3 separate regions of the Homo sapiens genome follow, and regions 1 and 2 are each linked to region 3. Evidence: promoter capture Hi-C in 16 types of primary human blood cells and fetal thymus (Javierre and others, 2016). All regions are on one chromosome and are shown on one strand. The core of a region is centred on a gene start or on the middle of the fragment in contact, and the rest is flanking DNA. Distances in the headings are between cores, read along the strand shown. Region 1 overlaps RAPGEF6 (Rap guanine nucleotide exchange factor 6). Region 2 overlaps RAPGEF6 (Rap guanine nucleotide exchange factor 6). Region 3 holds the start of MEIKIN (meiotic kinetochore factor).

The links. The method cuts DNA at HindIII sites, captures the fragments that hold promoters and counts their contacts. A CHiCAGO score of 5 or more calls a contact.
Region 1: a contact is called between a fragment that was not itself captured here and the fragment with the promoter of MEIKIN in region 3, in 4 of 17 cell types (neutrophils, monocytes, non-activated CD4 T cells and 1 more). The highest score is 6.8, in neutrophils.
Region 2: a contact is called between a fragment that was not itself captured here and the fragment with the promoter of MEIKIN in region 3, in 1 of 17 cell types (monocytes). The highest score is 5.6, in monocytes.

The regions. Positions count from the first base shown.
Region 1 is chr5:131,584,072-131,586,771 of GRCh38, reverse strand. The region is part of intron 4 of RAPGEF6 (Rap guanine nucleotide exchange factor 6); the gene reads left to right. Among named protein-coding and RNA genes, the nearest start is that of RAPGEF6, 50 kb to the left of the region's middle. The HindIII fragment of the contact is 2,714 bases long and covers 1-2,625 here.
Region 2 is chr5:131,546,177-131,548,909 of GRCh38, reverse strand. It overlaps RAPGEF6 (Rap guanine nucleotide exchange factor 6), which reads left to right. Exons shown (of 28, transcript NM_016340.6): 6 at 720-863. Among named protein-coding and RNA genes, the nearest start is that of RAPGEF6, 88 kb to the left of the region's middle. The HindIII fragment of the contact is 1,425 bases long and covers 634-2,058 here.
Region 3 is chr5:131,944,213-131,946,912 of GRCh38, reverse strand. It overlaps MEIKIN (meiotic kinetochore factor), which reads left to right and starts at 1,250. Exons shown (of 13, transcript NM_001303622.2): 1 at 1,250-1,513; 2 at 1,664-1,757; 3 at 2,161-2,248. The coding sequence starts at 1,408. The HindIII fragment of the contact is 14,593 bases long and covers 1-2,700 here.

The DNA.
Region 1 (2,700 bases), core at 19-2,518, 360 kb after region 3:
CCAACACTTAGTAATACAAGTCTTTTTACTTTAAAGTTTTTGGCTGCTTAATTTCAGTCATTCTTTTCAATTTTATAGTTTTGATTTGCATTTTAATGACTGCCGATGAATACATTTTCATTAGAATGACTTTTTTTTTTTAAGATAGAGTCTTACTTTGTCACCCAGGCTGGAGTGCAGTGGCACAATTTTGGCCCACTGCAACCTCCACCTCCCAGGTTCAAGCAATTCTCCTGCCTAAGCCTCCCAAGTAGATGGGACCACAGGTGCGTGACACCACGCCCAACTAAATTTTGTATTTTTAGTAGAGACAGGGTTTCACCACTGCTGGCCTCAAGTAATCCACCTGCCTTGGCTTCCCAAAGTGCTGGGATTAGAGGCTTGAGCCTCCATACCCAGCCTAGAATGACCTTTTTTGTAAAGTGACTTCTCAGGTCTGTTCCTCATTTTCCTAATAAGTTGTCTTTTTGTTTTTGAGATGTAGAAATTTTTTATATATTCTGAATAAGAAACCTTGCTTGGTTATTTTTGTTGGAAATACTTTTCCCCACTCTGTCTTATTCATTGTCGTATTCATTCTGTTAGTAACGTCTTTGGATGAACATGAGCTCTTAATTCTAATGTAGAAAAATTTGTCTTTCCTGTTTCTGAGGTTGTGAACCCCAAAAATCTGAGACAGGTCTTAGTTCATTTAGAAAGTTTATTTTGCCAAGGCTGAGGACGTGTGCCTGTGACACAGCCTCAGGAGGTCCTCATGACATGTGCTCAAGGTGGTCAGAGCACAATTTTGTTTTATACGTTTTAGGGAGACATAAGACCTCAATCAACATATGTAAGATCAGCATTGGTTCAGTCTGGAAAGGCAGGACTACTTGAAACAGAGAGGGGGCTTCCAGGTCATAGGTAGATAAGAGACAAATGGTTGCTTTTTTTGTTTGTTTTTTGGGGACGGAGTTTCGCTCTTGCCGCCCAGGCTGGGGTGCAATGGCGCGATCTTGGCTCACTGCACCCTCCACCTCATGGGTTCAAGCTATTCTCCTGCCTCAGCCTCCCCAGTAGCTGGGATTACAGGTGCCCGCCACCACACCCAGCTAATTTTTATATTTTTAGTAGAGACGGGGTTTCACCATCTTGGCCAGGCTAGTCTCGAACTCGTGACCTCAGGTGATCCATCCACCTCGGCCTCCCAAAATGCTGGGATTACAGGTGTGAGCCACTGTGCCCAGCTGGTTGCATTTTTGTTTTTTTTTGAGTTTCTGATTAGCCCCTCCAAAGGAGGCAATCAGGTATGCATTTATCTCAGTGAGCAGAGGGGTGACTTTGAATAGAATGGGAGGCAGCTTTGCCCTAAGCAGTTTCCAGCTTGACTTTTCCCTTTAGCTTAGTGATTTGGGAGGCTCAAGATACTTTGCTTTCACAAGGCCATGGAGATATATATGTATGTATGTATGTATGTATGTATGTATGTATGTATGTATGTATAGTTTTTTTTTTTTCTTATTTTCTAGAACTTTTCTTGTTTTCCTTTCACAGTTAAATCTGTAGTCTACCTGGAATTGAGTTTTGGGTATGGTATAATGTTGCGTCGTTTTCCATAGGGATACCTAGATGTCCTTTTCTCACTCATTTAGTGCCACCTTTTATGTAAATCAAATATCCACATATGTGTGTGCCAGTTTTAATTTTCATGTTTTTGATGAATAATGATGTTGAACACTTTTCCTTATGCCCTTATGCTTATTGGCCATTGCTTTCTGTTTTTTCTTTAATAAAGTATCCCTTAAATTTTGTGTGCCTGTTGTTAAACTCCTGTTATTACTGTAACTGTCCAGTGGATTCTTCCTGCCCACCTGTACAGACAAAACCAATTCACTGAGACCATGGCATTGTAATAAAGAGTTTAATTGACACAAGGCTGGCCACGCCCTGTGGGAGATGGAGTTATTACTCAAATTCATCTCTCCCAAAATTTGGAGGTTAGGATTTTTTAAGGATAGTTTGGTGGGCCAGGGAATCTGGATTCTGGGTGAAGCCACAGGACTGGTTAGCAGGAGGTCTGTGGGTCCTGGTGGCCACTGATGAATCATCAGAAATGCTAAAAACCTGAAAAGACATCTCAATAGGCCAATCTCAAATTCTACAATAGCACTGTTACTTGCAGGAGTAATTGAGGGAGTTGCAAATCTTGTGACTTTTGGAATAATGACTGGTAATCATTTATGTCTACAGCTTAGCAGAATTCAGCTCCTCATCCTTGTAATCTGGTGGTCTTTCTTTCATTAGCTTTACAAAAGCAGTTTAGTTATCATTTAAACTATAAATGTTTCCTAAAGTTAGGGTGGCCGGGGCCAAGGAATGATTGAGGGCAGTTTAGAGGTTAAAGGAAAGCTGGGTATTGGTTAGATCAGATCTCTTTCACTGTCATAATTTTCTTATGGTTATAACTTTGCAGAGGCAGTTTCATTATTATTCTATAAGAATCTTTCTACATCCAGGATGCAAGCTGTCTGTTAACCATTTTATCCCATTAATTTGACTTGCATTTTTATTTATTTTTAAAACTTTATTGAAGTATAACTGACATACACTGAACAGCACGATTTATAGTATACAGTTTGATAAGCTTTGGCATATATAAACACATGTAAAACCACCAGTATTACAAAGATAATAAGCTCTATCACTAGAAAAAGTTTCCTC
Region 2 (2,733 bases), core at 97-2,596, 400 kb after region 3:
TTCCCCCTGTAGAAATGGGGTCTTGCTCTGTTGCCAGGTTGCCAACTCACCTTTAATAAGTATCACTGTTGTGAGACTGGAATGTCACTAATATCTTTGGGTTTTTCTTTGTCTACAAAGTAGAGACAGTAATACCTGCTTACAGGGCTGTTGTGTGAACTAACTACTTAATATATATGCATGCTGGCCTATTTTAAACTCCTAACAAATGTTAATTTTCCATTTTATTTTCTTACTTAGAAGATGCCAGCCTTACTTGTGGCTGTTGTCATGCATTAAGTTGAAAATTAAAGAATATTGCATAAAGTTTTCTTGTTTTACTTTTTAACAATTAACTAAAACCATAACCAGGATTGTTTGCTAAGTAAAATATGTGTATAATCAGGCAGTTTGTAATTAGAGGAACTCAAGTTGTAATTATTGAATGTGTAGGTGTAGTTAACAGCCTTCATTTCTGGTAAGTGACTTTACTTAGAGGATGTATGTTTATGTGCACAAGAGAGACTGTTTCCTGGACGGAAACTGTGGTCTCCAGATCTTTATAATAACATCACCTCTAATCTTTAACTCATGAGCGTTGTGCTATACAGACTGTTTTCTTGAGGCAGTTTCTTGTAAGAAGTAAATGAAGCTTCCTTATGAGTCTGTTAAGACTCCATAGATTGTCAATAATATGGAAAAATTTGATATTTCATCAGGAATATGAACATGTGTTTCAGGTAGAGAATGCCAAAGATAATGAAGATAGTATTCTACAAAGAGAAATTCCTGCCAGACAATCCCGAAGAAGATTTCGGAAAATTAACTATAAAGGAGAGCGCCAAACCATTACTGATGATGTGGAGGTTAACAGCTATCTTTCTGTGAGTATATTTAGGAACACTTCATGAATCTTCCTTAATTTTCATATCTAGTATCTTTAATTTACATGTATCTTTGGTAATATCAACATGCTGGGCTCTGTATGTGAAAATTTGGGGCAGGTAAATATATAATCTTTTTAAATGCTTCTGTTTGGTTGAATTGGTTAGGAATGCTCTTACCAGTGGGAGTTCTGGTTTTGCTTTTTTGTTGTTGTTTAAATAGTGAAAAAAGTTATTAGGCTGGGTGCAGTGGGTCATGCCTGTAATATCAGCACTTTGGGAGACCTAGGCGGGCGGATCACAAGGTCAGGAGTTCAAGACCAGCCTGGCCAATATGGTGAAACCCCCATCTCTACTAAAAATACAAAAATTAGCCAGGTGTGGTAGTGCATGCCTGTAGTCACAGTTATTTGGGAGACTGAGGCAGGAGAATTGCTTGAACCCAGGAGGCAGAGGTTGTAGTGAGCCAGTATCACACCACTGCATTCCAGCCTGGTCGACAAGAGCAAAACTCTGTTGCCAAAAAAAAAAAAAAAAAGTAAGCTGTGTCTTCAAAAGTCTTTAATTGTGAATAGCTTCTTTTTAGACTGAAAAGTAGCTGAATCAAGAAATAAGGGTAATCTAAAAAAATCAGGTGTATTTTTGAGGGGAGAGGTTTCATAGTTACCAGTTTCCAAAGTACTCACGATTTCTAGAATATTAAAACAATTAGTACAGAGCATTTCCTCTTGTTTGCATTTGTTAAAAATAATAATAAAAAGGATGGTTGAATATAGTGAAATTCCCAAGGATGTGTTTAGTTTTTTCAGTTGTCATAAACAGATATTTATTCATTCCATGTTAGGTGTTAGGAGTAAGAAAGATTATTTCGAGAGTTGTTTGTACTGGAATAAGTGTTAGAATTAAGGCAGCTCTAATGTTTGTCACATTTGCCTAATTGCATTGATTCAATACAAGAATATGAAATAGTCCTAAAATTTATCATATCCAGAGCCACAACAAGGTTTATTTCCTGTTCTCACTATTTAACAATTTCTGTTTTTGTATTGTAAATTTCCCATCACTAATTAAGGTGACATATTTTGCTTTACTGTGTAAGTAATATGTGTCTTTTTTTGAAAAATTAGAAACAGATTGTTCCTATTACACAGTTATATAACTATTTGATGATATTTTGCAATTCTTGGATAAAGCTTTTCAACATACAGATAAATCTGTAAGGTTTTTGCTAACTATTGAAAACTTAAATATGTAAATTTTTGTTAACTTTTAAAAACAAATATATAAACTAAACATCTTTGAATGTTGTTAAATGTTTTTCCCATTATTCCTAATGACTGCACAGTACTCCATTATAATAATATGCTATAATTTATTCAGTTCTTGATATTTGATAAGTTACATTCTTTCCAGTTCTTCATTATTTATTTATTTTTTTTTTTTGAGATGGAGTGTCGCTCTCTTGCCCAGGCTGGAGTGCAGTGGCACGATCTCAGCTTACTGCAACCTCTGCCTCCTGGGTTCACGCGCTTCTCCTGCCTCAGCCTCCCTAGTAGCTGGGACTACAGGCGCCCGCCACCACGCCCAGCTAATTTTTTGTATTTTTAGTAGAGACTGGTTTTCACCATGTTAGCCAGGATGGTCTCGATCTCCTGCCTTGTGATCTGCACACCTCGGCATCCCAAAGTGCTGGGATTACAGGCATGAGCCACAGCGCCCGGCCTTTTCCTTATTTTTTAAAAATTAAGGTGCTAAGTACAATGTATGCCCACATTTTCATTTCTATAGAAAAAATGTCAAGAGGTAGAATTAATAAATGAAAGAATCTTTAACTGTAATATTTAGTTTTCCTAGTGTGAGCTAGAGTGTG
Region 3 (2,700 bases), core at 1-2,500:
CCATATCTACTTCTTAATTCAGTCCCTCCTCCTTGATCTGAGCACTTGGTTTCCCCTGTGGCTGCATGCTTGGTTCATCTAGGCATGCTCAGGTTACATGACCTCAGGGTTCATGGCAACTGAAAAACAACTCACAATTTTGTTACATAAAAGTTGAACCAAGGCTGGGCAAGGTGGCTCACACCTGTAGTCCCAAGAATTTAGGAGGCCAAGGCAGGAAGATCACGTGAGGCCAAGAGTTCAAGACCAGCTGGGATAACATAGCAAGACCCCGTCTCTATAAAAAAATTTACAAATCAGCTGGGCATGGTGGCATGTGCCTGTAGTCTTAGCTACTCGGGAGACAGAGGTGGGAGGATCACTTGAGCCCAGAGTTTGAGGCTGCAGTGAGCTATGATTGTACCACTCCACTCCAGCCAGGGTGACAAGCCAGACCCTGTCTTAAAAAAAAAAAAAAAAAAAAAAGAGGAGAAGGGGAAGGGGAAGGGGAAGAAAGAAGAAAGAAGAAAGGAGAAAAGAAGAAGAAGAAGAAGAAACAGATCGGTCTGGTGCAGCAACAAGTTGAGGCCCAGGGCACAAGGAGGAGAGCCCCTATGGAATCTTCTACCTTAACCACAAGGATGCCCAGATGTCTAGAGATGGCTCCTGGACACAGGCTAAGGGACTGTTTGTCGTCCAGAAGCAGCCTCCTAGAGCCCGGGATCTTCAGAGGCTTGGTTAGCCTCTTAATTACCATAGCTTCCCAGTCAGTTGCAGGCCCAGGGGACTGAAGTTGATTCCTCAGGGAGAAGCTCCTTGTCACTTTAAGGTGCATTCAGTCCTCTTTGTGACCTTCCTGCACTGAGGCCAACCCCTCACAAGACTGCCTGTGCTGGTGGCCTAAAACTCCATTACTAAGGCCTTATGCAGTGCTGATAGGGAGAGCTTGCTCAGAGGAAGTGTTGGGCCCACCCAAAGGAGGGAACGCCTTTACTCCTGCATGCCCAGTTGAATTAAGCATGCAGCCACAGGCGAAACCTAAGTGCTCAGACGGAGGAGGAGGGGCTGAATTAAACCTTTTTCTGGACGAGGAAAAAGTTTTTTCCAAAAAACTCTCGTTTCGCTGGAGTTGAAGGAACCTGCGCCAGAAGGCCAGAAACCACTGGGCCCCTATAGGAAGGCTGGGCGGCTGCCGCGCTCCTCCGTTTTCCCAGAAGCCTCTGCGCGGCCTCACAGAGATAAAAGCGCGGGAGCGAGGCCCGGCGGCTCCAGTTCTGGGGCTTTTGCTTTCGCTCGATTAGTTGCTGTGAGGCTGCTCCGCGGGCCTCGCCTGGACGCTGACTCCCTGTGACTTAGCCCTGATCCTCAGGAAGGCAGGCCATCGAGAGTCCAGAGGCACCCGTGGCCTGGGGGTAGGGTGGGATAGCAATGTGGCCGCTACGGGTCTATACCCGCAAAAAGCGGGAGGGTCAGAGGCTCAATCTCACCCCGACGCCAGACCTAGGCTCTCCAGCGAAGGCCGAGGCCCCGCCAGGTACAGGCTCAAGGCTCGCCCACCGTAAGCTCAGCCGAGCTGCCTCCGGGACGGGACCGAGGGCGGGCGGGGGTGCTAGGCCTCGGGCCCAGGACCCCCCCGAAGCCGGTGGGTAGGTTTCTTGCCCTGAAACGTGCCGCCCTCTCTCAGGTTCGAAGAGAAAAGGCAAAGTGCACGGCTTGTCGAAGATTGCAGAGAAAGCAGAGCGGAGCAGGCAGGGAGGTAGCGGCTCTGGGCCGTTCAGGTATGTAGCCTCCAGTAACAGCCCGATCCTAGCTTGCCACCTCAGAAAACTTCAAGCCGAATTTTCTGCTAGTAGCCTTTTATTCTAACAGTCAAGGAGCAAAACAAATACAGTACTCTGATTTTGCTCTTCTCAGAACATGGACCCCAAAATTTGACTTCAGGAAGATTTATTTTTAAAAAGGGGAAGGCTTGCCAATTTACGTAAAAGGAAGTGAGATAAATTGGTCGGTGAGCTATACGATTGTGTCACTGCATTTGGGTTTTGGTGCAAGTCACCACTCTGGTCCTTACTTCTTCCTAAAGATGTCCCTAAAGAGCCTTTCAGATTCTAAAGAGTCTGAACAGAGACGTGGAGAGCCAAATCCAGATGGTGCAAACTAATTGCGTTGTCTCTTTGTTAGCCCTCGCTTAGGAGTTACAGGAGAGAAAAGCCTGCAAGAAAATAGGTCTAGTGAAGACACCCAGGATGAGAAGATTGCATCGTTGCGTGTATGTATGCTTCTCTTTTAGTCCTTGGACACACTTAGTGTAGAGACTATCAGTACCTGATGTACCTCCGGATGAAAGAATAAAATGGGCTTTGTTCTGTAGATGTTACATAGCTCACCAGTATTTTTATAAACACTTACGTGTCTTTAGACAGGGCCTTGAATTTCTGACTTGGGTAGATTCATAGTCATGCATTTTTGTTTTTCTCTTTCTCTTGACACGTTTTTGGAGAAACGTCCATAATTGGTGAATTTTCTGTATGACAAATACAAAATGTTACTTAATAACTCCTTTTTTCATGTTTTCCATTTGATTTTCCATTAACAACTGGAAACATTCATTACTAAGGGTTTAATATGTTACAGAGCATTCTAATGTTTATTCATTAGAATATTTTATAACTTCTTGATGTGCTGTATTTAATATGAATTCTGTACTATATTTTAAAGTTG